Linked DNA regions of Homo sapiens: all the other regions are linked to region 5. Evidence: promoter capture Hi-C in 16 types of primary human blood cells and fetal thymus (Javierre and others, 2016). All regions are on one chromosome and are shown on one strand. The core of a region is centred on a gene start or on the middle of the fragment in contact, and the rest is flanking DNA. Distances in the headings are between cores, read along the strand shown.

Region 1 (2,989 bases), core at 436-2,935, 1.1 Mb after region 5:
ATGGATTCTTTGCGCTTACTCACCTACAACATGTCCCCCACACTGAACTTGCACCCTGCCATTTCCTAGATGTCTGCTTGGCAAGAGCTTCCAAATTACTAAATATTCTCATCTCTAGAACTTTTAATACAATGGGTTCTCAAGGAATTAAAATAAAATGCTAATATGAGAATAATTCAGAATATAACTAAATTTTAGATTATTTATAAAGCAACATGGAATCTTGTAGAAACTCAGGGACGGGCTGGGCGCGGTGGCTCATGCCTGTAATCCCAGCACTTTGGAAGAACGAGACGGGCGGATCACTTGAGGTCAGGTGTTCAAGACCAGCCTGGCCAACGTGGTGAAACCCCGTCTCTACTAAATATACAAAAATCAGCCGGGTGTGGTGGCGCAGCCTGTAATCCCAGCTACTTGGGAGGCTGAGGCAGGAGAATGGCTTGAACCCGGGAGGCGGAGGCTGCGGTGAGTTAAGATTGCACCATTGCACTCCTGCCTGGGCTACAGAGTGATCCAAAAAAAAAAAAAAAAAAAAAACTGAAAAACTCAGGGACGTTGTTATAACTTAACTAGTGTTCTTTGTTCTGTGGTGTGCTGAAAAGAGAGTTAATGGAGTCCTGGCTGTCAGTTCACCGTGAGTCATAAGAGGATGTGTCCTAATGTTTCAGATTTGTAACTGGGGATCCCCTGGAAGAATCGTCTGGAAATTACGACCTTCATCTGGCGATTGCAGCTGTTAAAGTCTCCAAAGAAGCCATTCTTACATTGTGTTGTGAAATTATTACTCTATCTCAAATCTGTGCCAGAAAGAAAATAAAATGTGTGTTTATGTGTATATTATAAGCTATGTTTTATTGAACTAATCATTACAGAACTTTTATTGGGCACCGACTGTGAGCCAGGCACTGTGCTAGTTTCTTTGAAGGCATTATTTAATTTAATGCTCACAAAACGCCTCTGTAGTGAGCAGTATTGTCATTCCCATTTTGCACGTAAGGAAGTTAAGGCTTAAGAAAGTTGTGCAGCTTCCTCAGGATCACCAAGCCAGTTAAGCACAGTGTCAGATTTCAAATCCAAACTTTGAAATTCATTCTCTAATTTCTTCAGACTACATGGATCGGTTCGGTCCAGTCTAGCTGTCCCAAGTTCTACTTTGGTGTTTTGAGTCTGAAACCCCAACTACTAATCACGTGTTACTTTTACTCGCTTTGCCTTATTTTGCATGTGTCCTTGTTGAATATGTCCTCCTCCAGGAAAAAGGGAGGTGGCAAGACAGAGGCGGCAATAGGGGTTTATTCAACAGATATTTATTGGGCACCACCACCCGCAGATCCCTGCACTGGGCAAACAGGACAGAGATGTTCCTGCCTGAAAGGATGTGTGGATAAGTGCACAAATGTGTGGATAGATGGATAAAATAAATAAGGAGGAAGCACATGGAATACATCAACAAATAAGTGAATCATGGTATGAGAGAATCAGCGGGAACAGTGGATGGCATGGGTGTGTGAGTGAATGGGGAAGTAAACGAACGAACGAACGAATGAATGAATGAAGTGGTTTTGAGTCTGAGCTACCAGAAGCCCGAGAGCCTGGCTGCGGGCGGGCGGAGGGGCGGCTACTCCACACAGTACGGTAGGCGCAGGCTGCTCCTCCTGTAACCCAGCTCTCACCGCCTCCCCCTCCTCTCCTCTCTCTCCTCCTCCTTCGCCGTCGCCGCCGCCGCCGGCCGCCCGCCGGCCGCCACGACCCCAGTCCCCGGCGGGCGGGCGGAGGAGGCGACCGCCGCGCGCTGCTGCACTCATCCTGCCGCCGCCGCGATGCGCAGAGGGGCCGAGCCGCCTGGGGGCCGCCGCCGCCGCCGCGCCGCACCATGAAGCTCCGCAGCAAGGCGGCGGCGCTGCTCTTGCTCGCGCTGGCCGCGCTGCTGCTGGCGCTGCTGTCCCTGCGCGCTGGCCGCGCTGAGCCCCCAGCGCTGCCCGCGCGCCCCGCGTCCGCCCCGCAGCGCCACCCCGCGCCTGTCCCCGCGCGCTGGCCGGGGCCGGGCGCCCTCCCCGGGGCCAGCCCGGGAGTTCGGAGGCGCCGGCCCCCGCGTCCGCGCCCCCGAGCGGGCCGCCGGGGCGCTGCGAGACTGGAGAAGTTGGCGAGGTGAGTCGTGGCAACCCCAGAATCCCATCTGCGGACCCGTGTCTCGCTCCCTACACCCGTGCCAAGTCCAAGGGAGGCTTTGCGCTGGAGAGACAGATTTCCAAGTTTCACCCACGGGCTGCCCACTTCTGTTTCTTAACCCGATAGAAAAGAAGACCCACCTTGGTGGAGTCCCCCTAACAGCTCGGTGTTGATAATCACGTACATTTTTTGAAGTGTCAAGGAAAGTGGTTTCGTACATTACATTTTTTAACTGTCAAGGCAAGGCGTATTTTTGCACTCTTGCAAACATGCACCCTTTGTTTAATTTGTCAAAAGCCATCACGGTGCAAGAATGTTTTATCTAATTCTCATGTTTCACTGGAGAATTTTACCGAAACCTTAGATATGGTTGAGTTGGAAAAGTTAGATGTTTACCAAGGACTGGCAGCCTCTCATTTAACCTCGAGTACCCCCATGCTTAGAACAGAAGGGACACTTGACCTAAGTTTATTAAAAAGAAGTTTTCTCCTTGAAAGGACTGATGCGTGGCACAGAAAAGACAGAGTGGGGGTTTCCAGATCCTCATTCTGTTTCAGGCTCGAGTGTGGTCAAAGGGTCCTCCTACAAGAAAAACAACTTAACCTTCGACCTTCTGTTTGATACTCTCTTTCCCTACACAAAGCCTAACACGCGGAGGCTTTTCATCAGAGAGCTTTATTTTTGGCCTCAGGGTTGCTGGAACGCCCCGCAGGTTAGGGATTTGAGTTCATTTCCTTTGTTGTGGAGGGCTTTTCAACAATCCCCTTGTCTTGTAGCGAGTCTGTTTCATCTGCCCTTTCAAAACTGTTGTTTCTAACTG
Region 2 (3,215 bases), core at 106-2,605, 1.1 Mb after region 5:
TGAGCACCAACATGACACCACAAAGTGGAAAACTCCACACTTGACCTCATGTGATGAGTCACAGTCAAAAAGCAGTCAAAACTTGGCTGCATACACAAAAGTATTAAAAAATTACATAAAACTATCTTCTGGCTATATGTATAAGGTGTATATAAAACAAATAAATTTTGTGTTTAAACTTGAGTTCCATCCTCAAGATATCTCATTATGTATGCAAAAATATTCCAAAACTCTAGAAAATCTGAAATTTCATATAAGGGACACTCAATCTGTACAGATAAGGGATACTCAATGGGAAACAATAAAGAAACACAAAACCAATTGATTTTATCAGGCAAATTACTACTTTAAAAAAAAAGCAGAAAGCAAAAGTGTCAAATCTCATCATTATTATGTAGGGATTTACCCCTCTTTTGTACTAAAAGAAATGAAGTGATTGGCTGGGCGTGGTGGCTTACGCCTGTAATCCTAGCACTTTGGGAGGCCGAGGTGGGTCGATCACCTTAGGTCAGGAGTTCAAGACCAACATGGCCAAAATGGAGAAACCCTATATCTACTAAAAATACAAAATTAGCCAGGCATAGTGGTGCACACCTGTAACCCCAGCCAGTCAGGAGGCTGAGGCAGAAGAATCACTTGAACCCAGGAAGGGGAGGTTGCAGTGAGCCGAGATCATTTGCCACTGCACTCCAGCCTGGGCAACAGAGTGAGATTCTGTGTCCAAAAAAAAAAAAAGAAAAAAGAAATGAAGTGATTTCCCTGCTTCCAGTTTTACCCTAGTTCAATCAGTCTTCCACTGAGGCTCCAAAATAATTTTTCTAAAACAGGAATCTAATTGTCACTTTTCTATTTTAAAAAGTGTCTATGGCTGCCTCATGTTGCCTAGATAATTTAAACTTATCAGAAGGGCATATCAGGCCCACTCCATATCATTCCAAACTTGAAATTTGAGCTTCCTTTCTTCCCATGGCCCTCCCCCTTGTTTCCTACTAAATATGATTAAAAACAAAAACAGCTGACAGTCCCAAAAGGCCCAGGACCTTTAATCCCAAGGTTTCCTCAAGCTTCAATACATTTTCAGAATGAAAATCCCTCTAAGCCAGAATAAGGGGTCAGTTTATGGATGAGTTTGTTATAATGGTTACAAACGCTAACTTTAGTGTCAGAATCTGAATTAACTCCTAGATCTGCCATTTACCAGATGTGTAACAACCTTCTTTGTACAAGTTAATTATTCTTCAAGAATCATAAATCCCTCTTCTGTAAAGGGGGGAAATAACAGTAACTATCCAAGCGTTACTATGAGCATGAAATGATAATGCAAAGAGCTTAGTGGCCGGCACAACAGGTGAGCATTCAGAAAATGTGAGCTATTATTACCAGCTCCCTTCCCCTAAACTCTATAAGCCTAGAGTTAAATTCTTACTGCAGAGAAAATTATATTTGCTTACATGGGGCCTCCGCAGCTACAGTCTCCATTCTTCAAGGAGAGGGACCAGGTTTTATTCATCCTTGGTATAGCAAACTGTATGTTCTTTTTTTTTTTTTTTTTAGACAGTCTCGCTCTGTTACTCAGGCTGGAGTGCGATAGCGCAATCTTGGCTCACTGCAACCTTCGCCCCCCAGGTTCAAGCGATTCTCTCACCTCAAGCTTCCCAAGTAGCTAGGACTACAAGCGCGTGCCATCAAGCCCAGATAATTTTTTTGTATTTTTAGTACAGATGGGGTTTAACCATGTTGGTCAGGCCGGTCTCAAACTCCTGACCTCAAGTGATCTGCCCACCTCGGCATCCCAAAGTGCTGGGATTACAGGAGTGAGCCACCACATCTGGGGGCAAACTGTATTATCAAAGAATGCCCATCTCACAGCACTCTTCCCAACCATGAAGGTCTATGTTCCCTCCCCTTAAAATTCAGCAGGCTCTGGGACTGTTTTGATGAATACAATAAAGCAGAAGTGACACAGGAATTAGACCTTTAACATATGAATTTGGGGACAAGAGTTGGGGGGGTGCCCACAAATAATCCATCCACGGCAACGGGTAAATAATAAAGCCTCGTTGTAACACTGTCCTAATAACAAATGAGATAATCCGTATAAAGCACTAACCTGGAGTAAAAATTCAATAAATATTTGCTACCACCATAATCTTCTTCCTATTCTTCACATCTTGGCTTAAATATCGCCTCCCCAGAAAGGCTTTTCCTGACCACTTTATAAAACATGGGCCCTTTTTCATTCTCTATTAGTGCACTTCTTTCTCCTCATAGCACTCACCACAATTAAGTACACTGTTTATTGTTTTCCTCTCCCCAGTGAAAAGTACATGAGGGCAGGACTTTGTCTTGTTCAGCACAATAATACCAACACTGAAACTCAATAAATAAATTAAAGAAATAAGTGAATTAAAAAACTGGAAAGTGCAATAATTCAAATACGGACGTTATATGGTCTAAGGGAAATCTGAGCAAAACTGGTTCAGCAACAGTGAAAAAACCACCTTGACTGGTGGAGAAGGTTTGTACCACAAAAGTACTTGGGTGGGAAAAGTAGGATGCAGCTACACTTCAGAAAGATTAGGAGGATGGATAAAGAGAAGGACAAGAGATTGGCAATACTTTAGGATGAATATGTAGCAGCGGGTTCTGTGGAATGGGGTTAATAGCAGTGCTTATCCCTAAGGATCACCGTCAAAGTTAAATGAGATACACCATCATAAAGCACTTAACGGAACTGCTTGTCCACCACACTACGAGTTATCAGTGTTAGCTGCTACCAAGGTTACGATTCTGCAAGGAGAATAATTTAAACAGATCAAGTGCTGACAGACCCTCACGGAGACTTGGGGGAAACAACCACACTTCAGGGACAAAACCAAACAGAAGAGCAGCAGACAGCAGGGAAGCAGGAGAACTAGGCTAATTTGGTGTCAAGAGGTCCAAAAAAGGTAAGAATTTCGGTAAGTAGGGAGCGGACAGACAAGAGATAGATCAACAGAAGGCGGCCTGGGCAAAGTTAAAAGGACCGACGGGTTGGGAAGTCACGGAGATGTCAGCGCGCGCCGTTCCCAGGAAGGGAGAGACTGGGAGAGCAAACGCGGAGTGAAAGGAAAGAACAGAACAAGTCAGAACGGGACGAGAACTAGGGCGACAGGGCAGAAACGGGAAAGTGACACGGTCCAAACGTCACTTTTTCAAGTGATTCCGCAATCCTT
Region 3 (3,050 bases), core at 492-2,991, 1.0 Mb after region 5:
TAATTCTTCAGTGCTTGAGTTTTCCCAAATATGAACTTAGCATTTAAGTCAGGTAGTTAATTTGACACTACAAATGCAGTTTTTCTCATTGTTTTGGTGCACCATTTTATTATTTACATAAAATTACAGAGCAGAAAGAAGAGACCATATCATCAGGAGTCTTTAATTGGCAGAGACTGACTAGAGTCCCCGAACCCCAACACTAATTTCCTGGCAGAGGCAATCCCAGCCCTGCCATAACTTAGGCTTTGAGAAAAAAGGTGTATGACTCTCTTTGAAAATAGGAATGGCTGTTCCATGAAGCAGTGGCCTTTTAAGCTTCTAATCAAATATCACATCACTAAAAAAAAAGGTATGGTAAGTAGCCACTAAAAATCATTTTTGCCATCAATCCCTGTATAAAATATTTATGAAGCTTAATTTCATTCTCAAAAAATAATTATAGGTAGAAGGTCTATTACAGTTTTCCTATACCCCAAAAAGATTGTTTTATGTACTCCCTGGAAAAAGTGGACCTCCATAGGAAGCCACAGCAATAGAAAATTTAGAGAATAAATAAATACTCTAAATCACAATTTCAGGATATTATAAAACTCTCCAGGAAAAGACAGTAAGACAAGCACAAAACAGAAAACATGATCCACTTCATGAAAGTCCTAATTTATCACTTTAAGCTTAACAGAAGTATAAAGCTCTTATGTGAAAAGGACAATAGAAACATGTAATAGCTAATATTTCCTTTAGTTTAAACCTTCCATAATGCCACACTAAATGAAAACATCTAAAATTGGATCAGAAATTTGCTTATATCCAACCATTAAAATAGAATTTATCAATTTCTCTCAATGCTCTGCTAATATCTATGTTTTCTTAAGCAAAAACAATTTCCTTGAAAGCTGTTTAAATTGAAACAGTACAAGAATAATCAATGAAAAAAACTGTAAAATGTCATATAAATCACTTAAAATCCAGAAATATACCTCAAGAAGGTCCTTTTCCAACACTCCATGCCCAAAGATATGTTCCACAGCTCTGTTTATTATTTTCCCAGCTTCTATTTATTAAAGAAAGTAGTCAGAGCAGGAAATGGGACAAGTCAAATGATCACAATCAATCTCATCACCTTTGCAACATGCTGGGAATGTAATTAATCCTCTATTTATTTAGGGGACTTCACACCCCTTACATTAAGGCAGCAACTCCCTGTTGGCTTCAGCTGAGATAATTATGTTATAACAAAGATTGGGTTTCAATCATAATAGACAGAAGAAAAAGGAAATTGTACTTGAAGTTGTCAGCTTTTTTAAAAAGCTTTCTCGTGACTCCATTGAAAGAATGCTCTTGACAAAGCTCTCCTTAAACAGAGCACTTTCTAAGTATGATAACCACACATATGCCACATTAATCAATGTAAGCCTTTTCTCTGAATAAGATGTTAAGACTATTCAAGCACAGTGAAAATTCTACGTGAAGTAGAGAATACTGGTTTATAAAACCTGACTAAATCAATCACCACCCTAACTCACTTGATCCTGTGGGTCTCCCTCCAAAGAGAATCCTCCAAAGAGCTTTGAGGTACAAAAATACACAAGAACAAGGAGATGAAGGAAAATAGCAATTTGCTTACTCTGTAAAAAGCCATGGCTCCACCAAGCCAAAACCAAGGACTTGGGCAGTCTACAGCCAAGTATCAGGGACTAAAACAAGAAAGAACAGAGACTTCTAACACAGCCACCCAGCCACAGCTATAAAATGGGCTTGATATACATACTACTCCCTAGATAAAGGTAGAGTATTTTCCACGCTTATTCACCTCTGAAAATGGTTCATATGTATCTCCACATCTTCTCCTCTAACCTCCTCCACCTTAAGAAAATTAACATGAAACTATAAAGGCCTTGCCCAATTTATTTTTATACACTTTTTTTTTTTTTTTTTTTGAGATGGGGTCTCCCTCTGTCACTCAGGCTGGAGTGCTGTGGCATGATCTTGGCTCACTACAGCCTTGAACTCCTGGGTTCAAGCACATGCCATCATGCCCAGTTTTGCTTTGTTGAGACACGGTCTCATTATGGTGCCCAAGCTGGTCTCGAACTCCTGTCCTCAACTGATCCTCCCACTTCAGCCTCCCAAAGTGATGGGATTATAGGCATGAGCCAGCATGCCCAGCCCTAAGCTTTCTCTATTTTTATCAATGTATCATAATCATGATGTCCATGGTACATATGTAAGTAAAAATGATAAATGAATTATGTTTCTATTTCTAAAAATTCTCAAATACGTCAAACCCATTTTTTCCAAGTCTGGATTCATGATGATTAGAATGTTTGTATGTATTAAGCTCCTCAGGTATCTGAGTATCTCAACAATATTTCACTTACCTTTCATAGCATTTAAGCTCTTGAATAACCAAAATGTCCAAGAAATTGAGCACTACTCAATTTCCAGTTCTTTAGTAAAAGCAAAACAAAATGTGGTCTCATAGAAGAGAAAAAGGACATTAGGTAAAAACTAAGAAAATCTAAATAAACTTTAGTTAATAATAACATCAATATTCGTTCATTAATTGTGACAAATATATCATTCCAATATAAGAGGTTAACAGAGAAACCTGGGTAGGGTACATGGGAACTCTGTACTATCTCTGCAATTTTTCTGCAAATCTAAAACTATTCTAAAATAAAAAGTCTACCTAAAAAAAAAAAAGATACAAATTACAAATTAAAAAAAAAAAGAACAACAAAAATATCCCATAAACCTTTAACATTCAAATATATAATTCTTTTGTTAGTTTTTTCAATACACTTAGTTACAGGAAGCATTCATATCTTTATAAAAGGTTATTTTAGTCTTAGATCTGTAGGAACATTTGTAATCCTGTGATTTATTGGCACATTTCTTGTAAGAGAAGTCTAATGAAGAGCAACAGTCCCCAGTGGGCACTGCTGAGCTACTGGTGATAAGGTACAGAACCATTAAGTAAATCCTTTCTATATGAAACCACGCTGAATGGATCCAAGTGAATGGATACTGCCTTGTACTAATCTTTT
Region 4 (2,962 bases), core at 278-2,777, 1.0 Mb after region 5:
CAAACCTAAACCTAATCCTACCACTGATGAATTTATTTTGGTGATCTCAAGTACTGATAAGTATGTCAAGGTAAAAAAGGAGAAAAACCAAACCATTTTGAAACCCTCACTGTGTTTCAGTGAATATGTTTGCTTTCTGCTAAATGGTCTGCACACTGGTAGAACTGAGCTATGCTTCTTTATATTTTAATCAATGGATAATAAATATAATTTAGTAAAGCTGATTAGATATTTATCTCTACATATAAGTTTAATTTATATGAAAAGGATGCATGAAAATTTTGACTATGAAATTAAGATCTTAGAACTGTGTTCCCCAATTCTAAAAAGCCAAGGAAAGATCATTAAAAAGCTACACATAAATAATCTTATGCAGTTCTTAGCTAATTTCTCACGAAGTAAAAATGGTAACAATCCCAACAGTTCCACTGTGGACCAGCTGTGCAGCCCAGAGTTTGCTTTGCTTCTGGTACCACTTCTTAACCGTTCGGTACTTAATCTGAATCTGTTTCCACAGGGATAAATTGGAAGAAAAATTCTTAAGAATTGCTATGGAAATTAAATGAGACAACAAACATGTAAGTACTTTACATATGAAAAGGGAAGGAGGACAACGGGTAGTATGGATCAGCCCTGGCACTCCCATTACTGGTCCCTGCCCCACTACCTGTGAAGCACCTGCCCACATATTCCTTCCTCCTCGGTGCCGTGGCTAGCACTCTAGTTCAGACCATACTGTCTGTCCCCAGACTTCCTTGGGTCTAGGCAAGAATAGGTCTCCTCTCTTCTCCATGCCCACTAACCTCACCCTTCTCAATGACTCTATCCTAAGTGCTGCTGCCAGATGAATCTAATTTCATAAGCCTCTCACCGGCTCCAATGCCAAACTCTTCAGTGGTTCCTCCCTGAATAAGACCCAAACTCATCAGCAAGCCATTGCAGGCTCCTTTCAGCCCGGTCCCAGCACACTGTTTCTACCTTTATCCTACCATTCCCCTTCACACCTCTGGCCTCCAGACAGATGGGAATTTGCCCTTTCTTGGACATGGAACTCTTTTATATTCCTTTTTCTGATTTTTTTGCCTTCTACTTTCTCAGGGAATACCGCTCCTCCACATCTTCTTTTCTAAATCCTACACATTCTTTAGTAACTACCATTATATATCACTCATTAGGTCTATGCTGTTTGCTCCTTCCCTATTAATCCCTCCTCCCACTACTAACAAGCACTCTATCAGGGTCAGAGTGAGGTGTGGTACTGGAGGTACTGAAATCCTATCACTCATCTCCTCCACCCTGACCAGGCTCTGGCTGACAAGAGTAACAATACAAAGTAGTCAAAAGAGAGGCAGGGGATCCACTTTTTTAAAAAAGCTTTCTGGTATTAACTACATTAGACAATGCGGGACATCTCTTACCTCCTTTGCCTGCCCCAATCTTAGAACCTGTATCAGGTTGAGACTCAGTCTCAAGCTAGGACTGAAGGAGCAAAGACCTGGTGCAAGCCTTCACTGCAGCTAAAACTGGCAGGTCCAAGAGGGTATGAGAAAGACACGCTGGCACTTAGCTTGCTTTAGAGCAGAGACTGAAAACTGGGGGCCTCCCAGGCTGACCTGGGCTCTCAGACATGCTATGGCTCTTACAGTGTGATTTTACATTACTTTACTTCTTTGTTCATACTTAAGCTTTAAAAAAATTTTAAAGATCATTTTACTTTCTACTTCTTTTTAAAACTGGCAATACTATATATTCACACAGCAACAGTAGGCTACAGTCGAGCCATGTATCTCTTCAGTTCACACAGGCCTCATTAGTCTCTATTTCCTTAAACCCTAGCATCCTTATTCATTTACCTGCTTGGCGAAGTAGGCATCTCAGTTTGCTTCTCCTAATGTACAGAAGCCTACTCTAATGTGAGCCAACTATATCAGCTAAGTCTCACCTTGTGGGAAGGCGAGAGAAAATAGCTGAAATGATCTACTTCAATGCTGGCCACTATTTGGAATGGCAAGCAGCCAAAGACCTCGGCTCCCTACAAAAGGGCTCCCCTCCAACCTCCATGTACATACCTAAGGCAGAGGTGGTAAATTTTCTCTGTAAAGAGATAGAAAGTAAATATTTTGGCTTTGCAGGACAATCTCTGATGCACTTACTCAATTCTGTCATCTTACCGCAAAAGCAGCCATAGACAATATGTAAGTGAATGAGCCTGTGTTTCAATAAAACTTTATTTATGGACTCTAAAATGAGAATTTCAAATAATTTTCCCAAGTAACAAAATATTATTTTTTTTCAACGATTTAAAAATGTAAAAAGCATTGTTAGCTCAAGGGCAATACAAGATGGATTTGGCCTGTGGATGGCCATTAAGGTAATTTCTTTTTTCTTTTCTTGTTAGAGACAAGGTCTTACCCTGTCACCCAAGCTGCAGCGCAGTGGCATGATCATAGCTCACTGTAACCTCGAACTCCTGGGCTCAAGCAATCCTCCTGCCTCGGGATCCCAAGTAGTTAGGACTATAGGCACACACAACTACGCCCTGCTAATTTAAAAAACATTTTTTTTTTCTAGAAACAAGGTCTCACTATGTTGCCCAGGCTGGTCTCAAACTCCTGGCTTCAAGAGATCTTCCCACTTTTACCTCCCAAAGTGCTGAGTTTACAGGCATGAGCCACCATACCTGTCCATTAAGGTATGTTTTTAAGGGAGTCTCCCCTTTGTATCTTATATTATAAACACTTATATTTTGTTTTTGTTTTGAACTTTTAAGTTCAGAGGTATGTGTGTCATGGTGGTTTACTGCACAGATCATCCCATCACCCAGGTATTAAGCCCAGTATCCACTAGCTGTTCTTCCTGATCCTCTCCCTCCTCCGGCACCACCCCCCCACCCCGCCACCCTCCGAAAGGCCCCAATGGGTGTTGTTGCCCGTGTCCATGTGTTCTCATCATAAATACTTAC
Region 5 (2,985 bases), core at 304-2,803:
ACTAGGTTTACCGGCTCTGCTCTGTCATCCCTCCTCAACACTGCTGCCAGAATAATGTTCCTGGAGCACACCTAGTCATGTCGCTCCCCTTCTCAAAAGATTTCAAGGGCTCCTGACTGCCTGCAGACTAAAGTTTCGACTTCTTAGCCTGATCATTAAGGCCCTCTATGATCTTGCACTATCCTGAAAATGCCCATCAAGGTGCCTGCCTTGCATGTAATCAGTAGGCAACAAATAATTTTCTGCACAGAAGAAAAAACAAATGAGTGTGGGTGAGAAACAATGCGTTGCTTAATTCTGGCTTTACCATGCTAAGCACTGGGGATGCAGTGGTACCAAAAACCAGGCATGATCCCTTGCCTTCAAAGAGCTTAGAGCCTAGTTAGAAGAGCATGATTTTTAAAAAGAAATGAAAGTATATAATGACAAATTATAAGTGCTAAGAAGGAAATGACTAGAGGGCAGGGATACAGAGTAAAACAGACGGGTTAGAAGGAGGCCCTACGGAGAGGGAGCCTGTTGTGGGGCTGGTCCAGGCAGAGGTACCAGCACATGCAAGGTCCTGCGAGACAAATGCGGTGTGTCTGAGAATCATAACAGGGGCTGCCCTTTCAGGCTTACCCAGAAAATAGATATCCTGGGAGGAAGGTGGCATAGGGTTCACCTTCCAAGTCACTTAAAGATGAAATGCTGCATTTCTTTTCCCTGATATAGGTCCTTCACCGGGATCACGGATGAGTTAGCGAGCAGGGGATGCTGCGGAGTCGCTGTGAGTCCAGCACTGGAAATCAGACCAAGCGAAATTTGAATCCCAGCTCCGCTACTTCCCGGCTCTCAACTCCCTTGACCTCCAAGCCTCTGCTTCCTGAGGTATAAAGTGGGATTAAGGATGGCAACAACTTCGTGATTACTGTTGAGGGAGATAATGCTTGCCAAGCTCCCCAGCACACTGCCACCCACATCAGTGCGCACCTGAGTATCAGCGGTTTTAGGATTACGATGACTATTACTATCGTAAATTACTCCCAGCTTTCGGGCAGAAGGCTCATTCCAGATATTCCTGTCCCCTCTGAGGCCTCCCGACCCTGCCAGCCCAGGCAACCTCCCCCGCGCACGGCCACCGTGACCCCAGCGCGGGCGCCGCCGCCGGACCCCCGTTACCTGGGGCCAAACGCGACTTGTCGCCACCTTGCGTCCTGGGCCCTGCCTCCCTCCCGGCCGCCTCCCGACCCCGCGGCTGCTGCGGAGGCGCCCCCAGCCCAGCCGGGCCCAGGCGGTGCGGGATGCCTCGGCGGGGCTGGCGGCGGCGGCCGCGCTGCGCGCTCCGGCGGAGGGGAGGGGGCTCCGCGGCGGCGGCGGCGGCGGCGGCAGCGGCGGCAGCGGCGGCGGCGGGCCCGGCGGGGGGCAGAGCCAAGAGGCGCGGCGGCAGCAGCGGAGGAGTAGGAGGAGACGGAGGAGGATGCGGGGGGCTGCGGACGGTGGCGAGGCCCTGTCCGCAGTGAAGCCCGCGGCGCCTAGGGCGCAGGGAGTGGCCGCCTCCTCCTGCGCGCACCATTCCTGAGATGGCGGCGGCGGCACAGCGGCGGCTCGGGGAGCCCAGGAGGGGCCGGCCGGGAGCGGGCTGAGCCCCGCAGGACGGGGAGCTCGCCCAGGGCCGGCGGAGCGGCGGAGCTCGGGCCGGGCGGCCTGCGGGAGCGGCGAGGCAGGGGACGGCCCCGGGGCGGAGCGCACGGCCTGGTGAGGCCGCGATGGCGAACGCGAGCGAGCCGGGTGGCAGCGGCGGCGGCGAGGCGGCCGCCCTGGGCCTCAAGCTGGCCACGCTCAGCCTGCTGCTGTGCGTGAGCCTAGCGGGCAACGTGCTGTTCGCGCTGCTGATCGTGCGGGAGCGCAGCCTGCACCGCGCCCCGTACTACCTGCTGCTCGACCTGTGCCTGGCCGACGGGCTGCGCGCGCTCGCCTGCCTCCCGGCCGTCATGCTGGCGGCGCGGCGTGCGGCGGCCGCGGCGGGGGCGCCGCCGGGCGCGCTGGGCTGCAAGCTGCTCGCCTTCCTGGCCGCGCTCTTCTGCTTCCACGCCGCCTTCCTGCTGCTGGGCGTGGGCGTCACCCGCTACCTGGCCATCGCGCACCACCGCTTCTATGCAGAGCGCCTGGCCGGCTGGCCGTGCGCCGCCATGCTGGTGTGCGCCGCCTGGGCGCTGGCGCTGGCCGCGGCCTTCCCGCCAGTGCTGGACGGCGGTGGCGACGACGAGGACGCGCCGTGCGCCCTGGAGCAGCGGCCCGACGGCGCCCCCGGCGCGCTGGGCTTCCTGCTGCTGCTGGCCGTGGTGGTGGGCGCCACGCACCTCGTCTACCTCCGCCTGCTCTTCTTCATCCACGACCGCCGCAAGATGCGGCCCGCGCGCCTGGTGCCCGCCGTCAGCCACGACTGGACCTTCCACGGCCCGGGCGCCACCGGCCAGGCGGCCGCCAACTGGACGGCGGGCTTCGGCCGCGGGCCCACGCCGCCCGCGCTTGTGGGCATCCGGCCCGCAGGGCCGGGCCGCGGCGCGCGCCGCCTCCTCGTGCTGGAAGAATTCAAGACGGAGAAGAGGCTGTGCAAGATGTTCTACGCCGTCACGCTGCTCTTCCTGCTCCTCTGGGGGCCCTACGTCGTGGCCAGCTACCTGCGGGTCCTGGTGCGGCCCGGCGCCGTCCCCCAGGCCTACCTGACGGCCTCCGTGTGGCTGACCTTCGCGCAGGCCGGCATCAACCCCGTCGTGTGCTTCCTCTTCAACAGGGAGCTGAGGGACTGCTTCAGGGCCCAGTTCCCCTGCTGCCAGAGCCCCCGGACCACCCAGGCGACCCATCCCTGCGACCTGAAAGGCATTGGTTTATGAGGGAGGCCCCGCCACATAGACCCCCAACCCAGCCTTTCCCTTTGGCTCGGACGGTGACGTTGTATCTTTTCCTTCTGGCCCCTGTTTAATTTTCTAAGCTGCCTTCAAA
Region 6 (3,013 bases), core at 271-2,770, 1.1 Mb after region 5:
ATGTCCCTGCTAGGAAGTTCATTGACTATAAATGTTACGTGGTGTCATAACAAGCAATAACGTGCCAAGACTCTGGAGCTTCAGATTAACCACTGAAAGACAACATGGGAAATGCGGTGAGTTCATCCTCATGAAACCAGAGCTCAGGGGAAGCACGGCGTTTAACACTTCCATTTACAAGCCTTTGGGGAGGAAAATCTGGATCACTACAAAGCTGGAGAAAAGTCTCCCTGTTGTAACTCAGGGCTGTGATGAAAACGACAAGAATTACAACCAAGGGAGAAAAAGAGGGAGCAAAGTTCACCACCTAAGGCTTATCTGGAATTCAAAGCAATCTAGGTTAATATTTTATGATACAGAATGAATCAAAGGTACACCCCTCACCTGCACTGTTGTATCTGCCTGGCGACACCTGATGAGGAGGTGTTAAACAGACAACAGCCCACGCTATGACACAAAGAGGAAGAAGGCCAGAGAGGCAAAGAACAAAGAGGAAGAGGAGAAAAGGTACAGCAGCATGCACCATAGTTCAGCAGAAAACTGTGATGTTTATTTCTTGGTTTATTTCTTTTCCCCCATATTTTATCCTGGCTCAACACACTTCAATTTATTCCTCCAATTCTGAGTGCCCCAAATATTTGAACCAGGATTTTTCAAATGAGAGAGAAATCTTGTTAACAAGGAACTTTCCCTTAAAGCTTTCTAAATGTATAAAAATTGTAATTTCACAGAGAAACCATCCAACTCCTGGCTCTCCTGTGACTGATTTTACTCTACAATAATAATTTCTAACATTTACAGGATTTTAAATACATCGTTTCATTCAATCTCAGGACAACTCTGAGGTAGGTACAGCATTCCACAGCAACCCAAAGGTGCAAGATCATATCGCAGGCATGTGGTGGAACAAGAAGTCCAACCCCAAGCCTACATTTAGTTTATATCTTACATTTGGTATTATTAGAAGAGACACGCTGTTCGACACAAAGCTCAAGTTCGTCTACCTTAGATCACATGTCCTTGCTATTTTTAAAGGTGGTTTTTAGAATGAATCACCATAATGGCTTTGCAGACTATGACTGTTCCTGATGCACCAGCCTGGCTATCAGTCATGGGTCAGATGAAGGGTCAGGAGGGCAGGTGGTTAAAAGGACTGAGTGGCTTGATCTCCTGCTAAAATTACACAAAGAAGACTAAGAGCATTGCTGACACAGAAAACTGGACTGAGAACAAGCTACAGTTTATCAAAGTAGAGCAAGTTAGAATTTAAATCAAAGGGAACGCCTTCTCTTGATTTTTAGGGCAACTAGCTCACCCTGGTGGACAGAAAACTCAACTACGCAACCATCAATTTTCTCCCACACCACCTCATTAAAATACCGTGCTAAAATTAGGGAAACTGACTCAAACCAGTTGACACACTTGATGATTTAAGTTTGTTCAAACTTCATGATCAGATCTACCTAGCATGTACAATTAACTATCTATATTCTGTTAGCAATCCTAAACCTGAAAATTTGTCTATATATACATAATGTGAGAAGTCTCTGAAAGCTGCTTAAACTCAAATATAAAAGTCAGGATTTGTTGAAAACGACAATAAATCTATAACAAAGAGTCACTATAGGCCGGGCGCGGGAGCTCACACCTGTAATCCCAGCACTTTGGGAGGCCGAGGCTGGCGGATCACAAGGTCAGGAGATCGAGACCATCCTGGCTAACAGGGTGAAACCCCGTCTCTAGTAAAAACACAAAAAATTAGCCAGGCGCGGTGGCCGGTGCCTGTAGTCCCAGCTACTTGGGAGGCTGAGGTAGGAGAATGGCGTGAAACCGGGAGGCAGAGCTTGCAGTAAGCCGACATTGTGCCACTGCACTCCAGCCTGGGCGACAGAGCAAGACTCCGTCTCAAAAAAAAAAAAAAAAAAAGAGTCACTATAATGAGCTTCTGTTATGCAATAAAGCTAATCCTCTATTTTCTAAAATATTATAGTAGCAATTTTTTGATCTGGTAGAACTCACCTAAACTTTAATAAAACTTAACCATAAAAACATTTATTACAATATTTATAGATATTTACTGAGTACCTTTATATAACAGGCACTATACTAGACACTGAAAAAATAGCAGATAACAGGCTATTGCATTGATATGCAGAAAATAAAAAACTGTGATGCATTAGAGACCCTGTAGCTACTTCAGAATGAGTGGTCAAAGAAGGCCACTATATATACTATTTGCAACTGCAGAAAACAGGAAGTCACCCAAATGTCCACCAGTAGTAAACAGCCCAAATATCCATCAATCATGAAAAAAATATCCAACCGGATACTATGTAATCATGAAAAGCTTCAGGTAGATCTCTACATACTAATATGGAAGATGTGCAACACACACTACAAATTGAAAACAAGGTACAAACCGGGTATACGTGAGTCTATGTGTAGACATTTCTTAAAGCGACTGTTTAGATGTGGGAATATATATTTTTAAAATATCCCCAAAATTGCTAATAGTGATTACTTCCGGGAAGAAGAACTTGGGGTGGGAAGAGTCTATATTCCATTTAATACTCTTCAGAATGTACATATATATGTATTCTTTCCATTTAAACATTGAAATTTTATTTTTAATATGTAAATAAAAGCCAAATCAGTGTGACAGAAAACATGGGTGTTCTCTTCTTGATCTGTCTGCAAATGTTATATTTCTAATGTATAGTCTTAATATATCAATGCTACACTGCACTTAGAGAAGCTGGTAATAACATGTCCATCTAGGTCTTTTCCCACTTGGGTCTTCCCCCCGCCCGTTACTAATACTCAAATGTCCTTACCAAAGAAGAATGTTCATACCTCTTAAGCAGGTTATTGAGAAACTACAAATGTCCTGTGTGATAATATCCCTAAATTTAGGTTTTAAAAAATAATTAATTATAAAAGAACTCCAATGATTCTAAAGGAAACCATACTTCAAAAGAATTTTCCAACACAAATAAGCCTAATTATTTAGCGG

Evidence for each region. The method cuts DNA at HindIII sites, captures the fragments that hold promoters and counts their contacts. A CHiCAGO score of 5 or more calls a contact.
Region 1: the fragment with the promoter of GXYLT2 here is called in contact with the fragment with the promoter of GPR27 in region 5 in 7 of 17 cell types (naive B cells, total B cells, erythroblasts and 4 more); the score reaches 11.9 in naive B cells.
Region 2: a fragment that was not itself captured here is called in contact with the fragment with the promoter of GPR27 in region 5 in 1 of 17 cell types (naive B cells); the score reaches 5.0 in naive B cells.
Region 3: a contact is called between a fragment that was not itself captured here and the fragment with the promoter of GPR27 in region 5, in 1 of 17 cell types (total B cells). The highest score is 6.2, in total B cells.
Region 4: a fragment that was not itself captured here is called in contact with the fragment with the promoter of GPR27 in region 5 in 1 of 17 cell types (naive B cells); the score reaches 6.2 in naive B cells.
Region 6: a fragment that was not itself captured here is called in contact with the fragment with the promoter of GPR27 in region 5 in 6 of 17 cell types (naive B cells, monocytes, total B cells and 3 more); the score reaches 8.4 in naive B cells.

What each region holds. Positions count from the first base shown.
Region 1 is chr3:72,886,361-72,889,349 of GRCh38, forward strand. GXYLT2 (glucoside xylosyltransferase 2) reads left to right here and starts at 1,686. Exons shown (of 7, transcript NM_001080393.2): 1 at 1,686-2,148. The coding sequence starts at 1,874. RefSeq lists silencers at 1,726-1,955, 2,056-2,185. The HindIII fragment of the contact is 7,571 bases long and covers 1-2,989 here.
Region 2 is chr3:72,844,764-72,847,978 of GRCh38, forward strand. All of the region lies in intron 1 of SHQ1 (SHQ1, H/ACA ribonucleoprotein assembly factor), which reads right to left. Among named protein-coding and RNA genes, the nearest start is that of SHQ1, 2.1 kb to the right of the region's middle. The HindIII fragment of the contact is 587 bases long and covers 1,063-1,649 here.
Region 3 is chr3:72,781,443-72,784,492 of GRCh38, forward strand. The region is part of intron 10 of SHQ1 (SHQ1, H/ACA ribonucleoprotein assembly factor); the gene reads right to left. Among named protein-coding and RNA genes, the nearest start is that of SHQ1, 65 kb to the right of the region's middle. The HindIII fragment of the contact is 865 bases long and covers 1,310-2,174 here.
Region 4 is chr3:72,801,538-72,804,499 of GRCh38, forward strand. The region is part of intron 9 of SHQ1 (SHQ1, H/ACA ribonucleoprotein assembly factor); the gene reads right to left. Among named protein-coding and RNA genes, the nearest start is that of SHQ1, 45 kb to the right of the region's middle. The HindIII fragment of the contact is 311 bases long and covers 1,373-1,683 here.
Region 5 is chr3:71,752,302-71,755,286 of GRCh38, forward strand. It overlaps GPR27 (G protein-coupled receptor 27), which reads left to right and starts at 1,554. Exons shown (of 1, transcript NM_018971.3): 1 at 1,554-2,985. The coding sequence starts at 1,749. The coding sequence ends at 2,876. It also overlaps a transcript of EIF4E3 not described here. The HindIII fragment of the contact is 6,251 bases long and covers 1-2,985 here.
Region 6 is chr3:72,821,242-72,824,254 of GRCh38, forward strand. All of the region lies in intron 6 of SHQ1 (SHQ1, H/ACA ribonucleoprotein assembly factor), which reads right to left. Among named protein-coding and RNA genes, the nearest start is that of SHQ1, 26 kb to the right of the region's middle. RefSeq lists enhancers at 1,006-1,055, 1,076-1,355. The HindIII fragment of the contact is 1,649 bases long and covers 697-2,345 here.